Linked DNA regions of Homo sapiens: all the other regions are linked to region 1. The links are contacts of gene promoters, found by promoter capture Hi-C in human tissues and cell types (Jung and others, 2019). All regions are on one chromosome and are shown on one strand. Each heading gives the region's core, a stretch centred on a gene start or on the middle of the fragment in contact. The rest is flanking DNA. Distances are from core to core; before and after follow the strand shown. Region 1 holds the start of PCDH18 (protocadherin 18). Region 2 overlaps LINC02172 (long intergenic non-protein coding RNA 2172). Region 3 has its middle 63 kb from the start of PCDH18.

Region 1 (3,671 bases), core at 282-2,781:
CAATAGGATCCCCTTCAAAAATATAAGATATTTCTTCTTTTCCAGGGGACATGAGGTTGATGTTAATTTCAGGTTTATTGTCATTAACATCCACAACCTTAATTATAATTTTGCAATGGGCTGGGATTGAATTTGGACCCAAATCTTGAGCCTGAACATCAATCTCATAGGATTTGGTGATTTCATAATCCACTTGCTTGAAAAGAGTCAAATGTCCTCTTTCAGAATCAATTTTAAAAGTCTCCATAATTTTGGGAGACACATGACTGCTGAAGGAATATACAATTTTCCCATTAGCGCCCTCATCTGGATCCGTGGCATTCAGATCTAAGAGCAAAGTGCCAACCGGGGAGTTTTCTAAGAGTTGTATTATATAAGATTGCTGCTCAAAAGCAGGGCTGTTGTCATTGGAGTCTGAAATGCTTATTTTTAGTATGGATGAGCCAGACCTCTGAGGTACTCCCATGTCTGAGGCAGTGAGCTGAAGCTCGTAGCTTGACTTCAGCTCCCGATCTAACTCTCTGACCACTATGAGTTCTGCATACTTGGCTCCATCAGTCCTGGTCCGAACCTCGATATTAAAAAAATCATTGGCAGAGAGCGAGTATGTGTGGAGGGAATTTTCCCCAACATCTGGATCAAATGCACTGTCCAGGGGAATGCGAGTCCCAACTGCTGCACTCTCAGATATCTCAATAGGTATGAGAGATCTTGAAAACTGGGGAGAATTGTCATTAATATCCAGCACTTCAACTTCAATATGGAAAAGCTGCAGATGCTCTGTGGGTAGAGTGATCACATCAAACTCTATGGAACAGTTCAAGTTTTTCTGGCACAGTTGTTCACGGTCAATTGTAGCCCCTATGCTGATTTCCCCATTATCCTCGTTTACTACAAGTAGAGGAGAATTTCCCCTCTGCATGGCTCGAAATCGAACAGTAGAAGGATTAGGAAGCTTCAATAAAACATCAGCCACATCCTCTGATAGTCTTGCAATTACTGATCCAACCCTCTGTTCCTCATAAATCCTGTATTTCAAATTCTTGCCCAGTACATCGTGGTTGAAAGATACTATCAGAAGTGCAAAAACAAACCTAAAGTGCATTTTAGCATTCATTTGGTGCATTGGTCAGTTTATGAGATTTCCCTCACAGAGCAAGTTAAAACAGCAAAGCAATTGCCTCAACTTCCTTTGGCAACGTAAAGCTACATTTGGTACTTGAAACTTGAAAGCGTCTCTTAATAACACAGCACAGCAATTAACAGCTCGCAAACTTTTGTTTTATACACACCGTGTCACGACTTCCAGATACCTTCGGCATGGAGTCCAGTCCTTGCGTTTGTTTGGTCGTTCGTCCTCTTTCCAGGCAGGAGAGTGTCACCTCCGCGTTTTCTCCCTTGTGTAGTCGGAATCCATCTATTGCAGGGTGCCGGTGGAGTCTGCAGTGTGTCTTTCCTGAGCGATTCTTTCTCCCTTTAGCTGCTCGGCTGCAGACTAAACACCCGTGATTGCTGACTCCAGTCTAAAATCTGTACAACTTCACTTCAACTCAGACAAAGCTCTTGCCCAGCGTGTGTTGAATCGCTTCCAGCCAATCAGCGTGCTTCCAAATCAAAAGCTGATGGAGTCACCCAAGGAGGGAGGGCGAGAGTGGAGGGTGGGAGAGAGAAAGAGACGGAGAAGGAGGAAGGCGGGGGTGGGTGCGCGAGGGAGAGAAGGGGAGATGGGCTGGTGGGGGCTGGGGGAGGAGATGGGAGCCAGTCCTTCCCTGTTCCTTCCTTCTTCCTCCCCACTCCCCCTCCGCCTTTCAATCTACTGCATTCACTTTCTCTGAGCGTGCCATGACAAAGGGGAGACAAATTACAGAAGAAAAACTTTAAATCAACTTCTGGTCGCCTTTATTTATATGGCACGTTAAATTCTTCTTGTTTTCTTAATTGCCCTTTCTTCTGCCACAGACATGTAATCATCTTGCTTTTCATAGTCCTTAAGTGCTAGTTTAACTTAAAATACCTCTAAGTGCGTTTTGTTGGTGGAGGAATTTAATACAATTTGAAAACTTGCTTCTAATTATGCTTCTCAGACCACCTCCTTCCCCACTCCCTCTGTAAATACTTGGGCCTTTCTCCTTCCAGGAGCACAAGCAGATTTTCTTGGGGCTCTGTTTTTAAAGAACGGAGCAAGTAAAGAGGTTTCATTTTCTGTTTTCTTTCATCTTTATTCTTTGAAGATAAAAAAAGGGCTATCTTGCACTCTTCATTTCTCTTAATTAGCAAGACTTAAGGGAACACCTCAGAATTTGGAACTAATTAACAATATAGTTCTACCTTGTATGATTTCTTTCCTTGAGTTTGGGCAAAATTGTTTGTAATATTTCTTTGTCCTGTACTTCAAAAAAATCCTATTTATCTTGGGTAAAAGACACTGCAAGCTTTAGCATGCCAATTTCTACCAAAAGGCACTATCTATACATGGCTAGTCTTTGCAGTGAATACAGGGGGGACATGGACTCAATAGTTTACAAGTCAAATTTTTATAATATATGCATTATTTATGAAAACACTTCAGATATGTATTTTAAAAACCCCAAAGGTTGTTTACACTGACAAATCAAATGCCTGAGCTGAAAATTGCATTTTGTATGCATCAAAATGCTAGGAAATATCATGGGAGGCTTGTGCTCTATCCAGGTCACAGAAACTGATACGGTATTCTTATTTGAAAATATGATTATTTATGATGTTCTTTCTGCTCTGCAATTCCTTTTAAGTTTATCATCGTGGCTCCATTTTTGCTGCTTTTTTTCATACCTTTTTCCTTATTCCTCAGCTGTCTTCATCCGCTTGCATATTTGCTGTTTCACAGAATGTCATTGTCACTTTTTTCCATTTATTTTTTCTCACTGTCTATTTTGCCCCCCAGAAACATATAAAAAAAGTAATTTTCTGATTTTTCCACTTTGCTTACTCTCAGCAGAGCTCAGCTAAAGTCACTAAGAAGGCTCTTTCCAAAAAAGAAAGCAGAGGAGTCTCAGCGTGAATTCTCCTTCTTTTTAGGCATTCAAAAGCATTTTATAAGCCATTGTCTTTTTTTCCCCCTCCTGAAATCAGTGCTGTGTGGCAAATTGTGCAGAATAGAAATGCCTATAATGAATGTATTTAGTACTGGGTCACGCTGATGAACATTCTGCCCCCATGAATAATACTGTTTTACAAGTTTGTAGCCCTTTCAAATTGCTGATCCCCAAACCCTATAGGCAAACTAGGAAAACTACCACAAGCAAGGGGGACTTTAGAAACCCATAGCCATCTGGCCTAGATCTCTAACAATCTGAGCCAATAATTATATCAATTCAGGCTTTAGCGAACCCCTTTGCAAACACCAAAAGAGCAAAGAAAGGAATTAGTGACTATTCAAAGTTGGGGTGAGAATTCAAAGGTAACCTAATTCCATTAGTTCTAGGAAAATTTTCTTTCAGAATTTGATAAGTCTACCCCCCAAAAAACTTCAAGAGCAATCGATTTGATTACCTTGATACGGATTTTTTTTATGCTTAAAAAGTAAAAATAATAAAAAGCTCTTTTATTTCTGACAGTGGGCTTGAACAGAAATAATCATTGTGAAAAAGAGCTTCACTGTAACTTACTGAAATATTAAATAACTTGTAAAA
Region 2 (3,511 bases), core at 346-2,845, 34 kb after region 1:
GGAAAATAAGCCATATTTTAAAAAAATACTTAACTAAAAGATCTATTCCTCTAAGCTGCTTATCTGCATTAGTAACACAGGGGCACCAAACTGGAGATAGTAACTTTCTGAAAGAAAGTATGTTTTGAGGACCCTTGGAAAATAAAAAAAATACATGTTTTGGGAAGAAAAATCCTGCCAAACAGCCAAAACAATATAGTATAATGAGACAATTATATTATTGACCAAGTTTACATAAAATTTGATTCTTTACAACCACCACCACCATAGAAAGAAAAGCTTACATTGGACACTACATTTAATTATGAAATATAGAAAAGATTCAAGTAGAGATTGTTTTAATGATGACTAACATTGTAATTTTAATGAAGAGAGTTTCTCTTGACTTAGAGCTTTCTTACTACTCTTTATTCTAGTGTGTCTTAAGCTATTACATTGGCAAAAAAATTATAAGAAAATAGGATTTGATGTAGTTTGATTGCGTGTCATGGCCCAAATCTCATGTTGAAATATAATCACCAATGTTGGAGGTAGGTCCTGGTGGGAGTTGGTTGGATCATGGGGGCAAATTTCTCATGAATGGCTTAGCACCTTCCCCTGGGTGCTGTCCTTGCGATAGTGAGAGAATTCTCTCAAGATCTGGTTATTTAAAAGCATGTGGAACCCTCTGTCTCGCTCTTGTCCCTGCTTTCACCATGTAACGTACCTGCTCTCCCTTTGCCTTCCTGCCTGATCATAGTTTTCTGAGACCTCCTCAGCAGCAGATGCCACTATGCTTCCTGTACAGCCTGCAGAACCTTAAGCCAATTAAAAACCTCTTTTCTTTATAAATTACCCAGTGTGGGTATTTTTAGCAATGGAATAATAGGCTTATATAGATTTAATATATAACCAATCAATATAAAAATCTCAGTGAATTCACACTACCGAAAACTTACTTATTCTACATACATGGATTACCCTTTCCTTAGAGCTTCCTAAAATTAGATTAATGAAGGTAAGTAGAATCTGCTCTAATGATTCCACTCTACTTAGGAAATATGGGGAAAAAAACCATAAGAGGATTATTTACTCTTTGTTATTTTCAACCATCATTAAATCTCCTTCATATTGATGGGAGTAATAATTTAATAATAAATGCTATGAAATAAGCAGTAAAAACTGATTACTGTGTAATGAACAAAAGTATATTTGTCAAATCCAGTAGTCCCTTTTTAGTTTTAATCTTAAAAATTTTAGTCGTTAATTAATTCTGATAACAATCTTTTTTTTTCTACCATTCTTTTTCTTCTTTTCTTCCATATTACTCCTTCTCTTATTTCCTTGCCTGCTTCTCTTGAAGCTTATTTTCTGTAAGTACAAATACTCCACCAGTTTAGGTTCCATCTTTGGCTTTTAAAATTCATCTATCTAGGCAAGGCACAGTGGCTCACTGCTGTAATCCCAGCACTTTGGTAGGCTGAGGCGGGCAGATCACTTGAGGTCAGGAGTTGAAGACCAACCTGGTCAACATGGTGAAATCCCATCTCTACAACAAAACAAAACAAACAACAACAACAACAACAAAATTAGCCAGATGTGGTGACGCAGGCCTGAAATCCTAGCTACTTGGGAGACTGAGACACGACAGTCGTTTGAACCTGGGAGGTGGAGGTGGCAGTGTGCAGAGATCGCGCCACTGCACTTCAGCCTGGGTGGCAGAGTGAAACTCTGTCTTAAAAAAAAAAAAATCTATCTATCTATCTATCTTTTGCCATTGAAATCCTATTTTGCCACTTAACCACATTTTTTTTCTTCTTTCAGAACTTTATTTTTTCTTATTTTTTTTTTTCACTTCAAGTTCCGGGATACATGTGCAGAACGTGCAGGTTTGTTATACAGGTATATGTGTGCCTTGGTGGTTTGCTGCACTTATTGACCTATCGTCTAAGTTTCTTGCCCTCACCCTCCACCCCCAACAGGCCTGGTATATGTTGTTTCCCTCCCTGTGTCCAAGTGTTCTCATTGTTCAACTCCCACTTATGAGTGAGAACATGCGGTGTTTGGTTTTCTGTTCCTGTGTTAGTTTGCTGAGAATGATGGCTTCCAGCTTCATTCATGACCCTGCAAAGCACATGATCTCATTCCTTTTAATGGCTGCATAGTATTCCATGGTGTATATGTACCACATTTTCTTTATCCAGTGTATCATTTATGGGCATTTTTGTTGGTTTCATGGCTTTGCTATTGTAAATAGTGCTGCAATAAACATATATGTGTATGTGTCTTTATAGTAGAATGATTCATATTTCTTTGGGTATATACCCAGTAACAGGATTGCTGGGTCTAATGGTATTTCTGTTTCTAGATCCTTGAGGAATCACCACACTGTTTTTCACAATGGTTGAACTAATTTACGTTTCCATCAACACTGTAAAAGCATTCCTATTTCTCCACAGCCTCACCAGCATCTATGTTCTTGAATTTTTAATAATTGCCATCTTGAATTTTTAATAATGGCATGAGATGGTATCTCATTGTGATTTTGATTTGCATTGCTCTAATGATCAGTGACGTTGTGGTTATTTTCATATGTTTGTTGGCCATGTAAATGTCTTCTTTTGAGAAGTGTCTATTCACACCCTTTGCCCACTTTTTGAAGGGGTTGTTTGTTTTTGTAAATTTGTTTCAGTTGCTTGTAAATTCTGGATATTAGACCTTTGTCCGATGGGTAGATTGCAAAATTTTTCTCCCATTCTGTAGATTGCCTGTTCACTCTGATGGTCGTTTCTTTTGCTATGCAGAAGCTCTTTAGTTTAATTAGATCCCATATGTCAATTTCGGTTTCTGTTGCAATTGCTTTTTGCATTTTCATCATGAATTCTTTGCCCATGCCTATATCCTGAATGGTGTTGGCTAGGTTTTCTTGCAGCCATCTTGGGTTAATTTTTGTATAAGGTGTAAGGAAGGAGTCCAGTTTCAGTTTTCTGCATATGGCTAGCCAGTTATACCAGCACCATTTATTGAATAGGAGATCCTTTCTCCATTGCTGTTTTTTGTCAGGTTTGTTGAAGATCAGATGGTTTAGATGTGTGGTGTTATTTCTGTGGTCTCTGTTATGTTCCAATGATCTATATGTCTGTGTTGGTACCAGTAGCAAGCTCGTTTGATTTCTGTAGCCTTGTTGTATAGTTTGAAATCAGGTAGCGTGATGCCTCCAGCTTTGTTCTTATTGCTTAGGATTGTCTTGGCTATACGGGGTCTTCTTTGATTCCATATGAAATTTAAAGTAGTTTTTTCGAATTCTGTGAAAAATATCCACGGTAGTTTGATGAGACTAGCACTGAATCTATAAATTACTTTGGGCAGTATGGCCATTTTCACAATATTGATTCTTCCTATCCACGAGGATGGAATATTTTTCTATTTGTTTGTGTCCTCTCTTATTTGCTGAGCAGCAGTCTGTAGCTCCCCTAGAAGAGGTTCTTCACATCCCTTGTTAGCTGTATTCCTAGGTATTTTATTCTCTTTG
Region 3 (3,505 bases), core at 57-2,556, 63 kb before region 1:
GTTGAGGAAACTTTTTAGTTATTTACAGCTTGTAACAATTGAGTAAAGTATACTCCTGTGAACAAAGTTTGGAGCATATTTATTTCTCTCTACCTGATTTCTCCAGAATTTGGAAACTATTTGTGAGTATTCTCAATTTATGGCATAGTTATTTGCATAAGAGCAATAAGAATTTTTTTTTCTTTGCACAAGACACAATTGGAGAAATTGCTTATTTTGCCAAAGTTTGAGGGGAATGGTATGCTTTCTTTTAAGGAATCAAACTTGACAAAGCCAATTAAAGCCTCTTGGGAAAACTAGCCTCATACCTTGTCTACCTAGTCCCTGTACAGAATTCCTGTACAGGGTTTCTGACCTGTAGTAAATAAAGAATGTCACTTTTTGACAGGCCCGGGAGCCCCAAGTTATCTTGGGACCTCAAGAGGAGAGGAGTTTACTCAACTCATATGTATTTGAAGGTACAGACCTATGGCAGGGCTTGGCTTTAAAAAAGTCTTATTTGAGATTCCTTCTATGGAACAGTTTCATCAAAGCCAATTCTTTAAAAAGCTTATGTGAAAAATAATTATTCTTGCTTCACTTTATACAAATAATCAGGCCAATTATAATAAAGCAAATTGGTCTTACCATGATTTGTCTTTAGTAAAAATGGGAGGCTGGAGAGAGAAATTATGTTTCAAAAACTATGGTACACTTACTATTAGATTCTCGTCTCATTTGTTGTTTTTGTGTTTGTTTCTGAAATTTAGGCTAATCACTGGTTGGTTCAACGGAATATGCAATTTAATAACCTTGTTTATTCCAGTGAACCAACCAGTGATCTCTGACTGCAGCTCAGAAGAAACAAGAGAAATGGGTAATGTAAAACTCTAGATCAATATTCTAATTCTGAACACATATTGGAATCAGCCAGCAACCCTACATCAGCTTGTTTCCAACAACTGCCCAGTTCTTAGAAAGCCTTCCTGTTTAGTTTGCTTGGAATGATTTTACTTATTTTACTTTCACTGTGATTGTACTCTTTGTATAGAAATGCAAGATAAGCTTACTCAGTGCTTTCTTAAATTGGACACTTATTAATCTTCCAGATATCACCTTTTGTTGGAACTAGAAGTTATGAACAACCCTCACCATACCAACACTTTCTGACTGTGCTCCTCTCTACCCTGAATGGAAGAGACCCAATAGTTAGGCAGGAATATCATTGCCCCTATTCAGCCTTAAGAAGCTACAGAAGACAGATCTTCATTGGTCTGCAATGCTTAGGATTAACAGCCCTCCTGTAAAGGGAGGAGGGAAATACGTCAGAGGCATTTGAACCAGAGCAACTCCATCCTGAGTGAGGGCTAGGAAAATGAGGCTGGGACTTGCTGGGTTGCATTCCCAGTAAGTTAGGTATTCCTAGCCTCTAGATGTTTACGGTTAAGGAAACAGATTGATACTGTTTGCTAAACAGACCCAACTTAGGAGTGTTCTAATATCCCGATATCTTGAGATCAGAATATTCCTAATTTTGCTTTAAAGATAATAATATAGATCCTTGCAAAATAGAGTAATTAAGAAAATTAATACCTTACCACAAGCCCTGTGGCAGAACATATCACCCCATGATTTTTTTATCCTATATATAAACAAGTATCAGACCTAGGGTGGATGCCTTCCTCCTCTTTCTTTCAGGAATGCCCTACTCTGTCTATGGAGTAGCTGTTCTTTCACTACTTTACTTTCTTAATAAACTTGGTTTTGCTTTGCACTGAGGACTCTCCCTGAATTTTTTATCATGTGAGATCCTAGAATCCTCTCTTGGGGTCTGGATCAGGACCCCTTTCTGGTAACACTATGATGAAATGGATAAAGTTAAATCAAACTGATATTTATGTTTTTTCTTTTCTGAGAAATTCAGTCCATAAAAGGTTTTATGTCACTTTCACTTTGTTCTATTGTTTGGTTTCTGAAGGTATTACTTTCTGAAAAGAAATCCCTAATCTCTTATGGATAGAGAATATAACTTATTCTTTTACCCTATGAATTAATATTTAATTAAATTAGAAACTATGAGTTTGAATATTAATTTCCTTGTTTTTAGAATTTCTTCACAAAATCAGAGTGTTCTCCTATTTTAATGCTCCAAAGGAAATTATGCTCCAAATCATAAATGAATTCAACCATTCTTTTGAAAACATCTTAATATCTGCACTCTATTTCTTCCATTTTGAATATATTCTCATAGCTAGTAGTCTTGCTGTGGACAAGGAATAGGTATTAGAATTTGTGAGCAAATAAAGATATGCAGAACCATGGGTTCCTACTTTAAACTATCTTGAGCTTGTAGAATCTATATCATGTCAGGTGATAAAGAATAAACTGTTAACGTAGAAAGGAAACAAGAAAAACTGAGGGAATTAACCTAATCAGTTATACATTTTAGTGCCTTGAGGAACTAAACTGTTTCATTCTTCATGAACCAAATGATATCTGCAAAAATGTTGTTCTTTCTTTGTTCCCTTTTGGTCTTATGATATTTCTCCTCATTGGCTTTTCAAGTCTTGCAAAAATTGGTGCTGTTGTTGTTGTTCCAAAATAGTTGCTGGCACATGCTATGTGGCAGACATTAAACTCAAACTAACACATCCTTACTGATTAGTTTCTAGTTTATGGTTGCTGAGGACTGAGCAGAGCTCTTCCAAAGCTTAATTTATAAAGCACTGAAAACTATAAGCGAGGGCATATTAAAATCTGTTCATATAAAAGTAAACTAACATTTGTGCCATATATCATAGGTGTAGAACCTGTATGATTAGAAATAGAACATCCAAACATCAACTGAATTATCCATTACTAATAAATAGTAAAATTGTGAGTAAAATATTAAAAATCCATATGTGTACAAATAGGAAAGCAACAAAGAACAAAGTATTCTACTTTATTATTTAGAAAAAGATAATGAAAGGAGAGCAATACCTGTATCAATAGTTAAAATAATACTTAAGATAAATGTCTCAATTTTCTCTTTCACATCGTTCTTTTCCCTACATCCTTTAATTATGAATTTCTTAATTAAGAATTTTATTTTAGTAGGTAAGATATATTCTTTGATTTATTAATTTTTTTCAGCAACTATTGCCTGAACATGTTCAATTTGTCAGATCCTCTACTAGGCTCTGGAAGTGCAACAGTGAACAAAAACAAACATCCCTTATATGTACATGGTACTTTCAGTAAGGTTGTAAAGAAAGAACCAAATCAAATTATCTCTGAAATAAAGCCCACATTGTCCTTTTGCAAATACTGTAGGGGAAAGGTACATGTGGGGTTATAATGTTACCAAAGGGGTCAGGAAATGCTGACTCAACCACACTAAGGAGACTGACTACAGGAAAGAATGGACTCTACTGAGAGGGAAGTGGAAAGCATATCCAGCTGATGGAGTAGGGTCTGCAAAGAAGTGTGGTGGGCACAGGAAATCTAGATAATTTTACTCTGGATAGAGCAAAGGAGAAAATGA

Evidence for each region. Contacts are between HindIII fragments. The study calls those that stand out against the background at their distance.
Region 2: a fragment that was not itself captured here is called in contact with the fragment with the promoter of PCDH18 in region 1 in 2 of the 25 tissues and cell types used here (mesenchymal stem cells and pancreas).
Region 3: a fragment that was not itself captured here is called in contact with the fragment with the promoter of PCDH18 in region 1 in 2 of the 25 tissues and cell types used here (mesendoderm cells and thymus).

Annotation. Positions count from the first base shown.
Region 1 is chr4:137,530,963-137,534,633 of GRCh38, forward strand. PCDH18 (protocadherin 18) reads right to left here and starts at 1,532. Exons shown (of 4, transcript NM_019035.5): 1 at 1-1,532. The coding sequence starts at 1,126. RefSeq lists an enhancer at 1,441-1,560. The HindIII fragment of the contact is 2,929 bases long and covers 444-3,372 here.
Region 2 is chr4:137,565,323-137,568,833 of GRCh38, forward strand. The region is part of intron 1 of LINC02172 (long intergenic non-protein coding RNA 2172); the gene reads left to right. Among named protein-coding and RNA genes, the nearest start is that of LINC02172, 21 kb to the left of the region's middle. The HindIII fragment of the contact is 4,174 bases long and covers 1-3,511 here.
Region 3 is chr4:137,467,695-137,471,199 of GRCh38, forward strand. No RefSeq gene overlaps it. Among named protein-coding and RNA genes, the nearest start is that of PCDH18, 63 kb to the right of the region's middle. The HindIII fragment of the contact is 4,226 bases long and covers 1-3,419 here.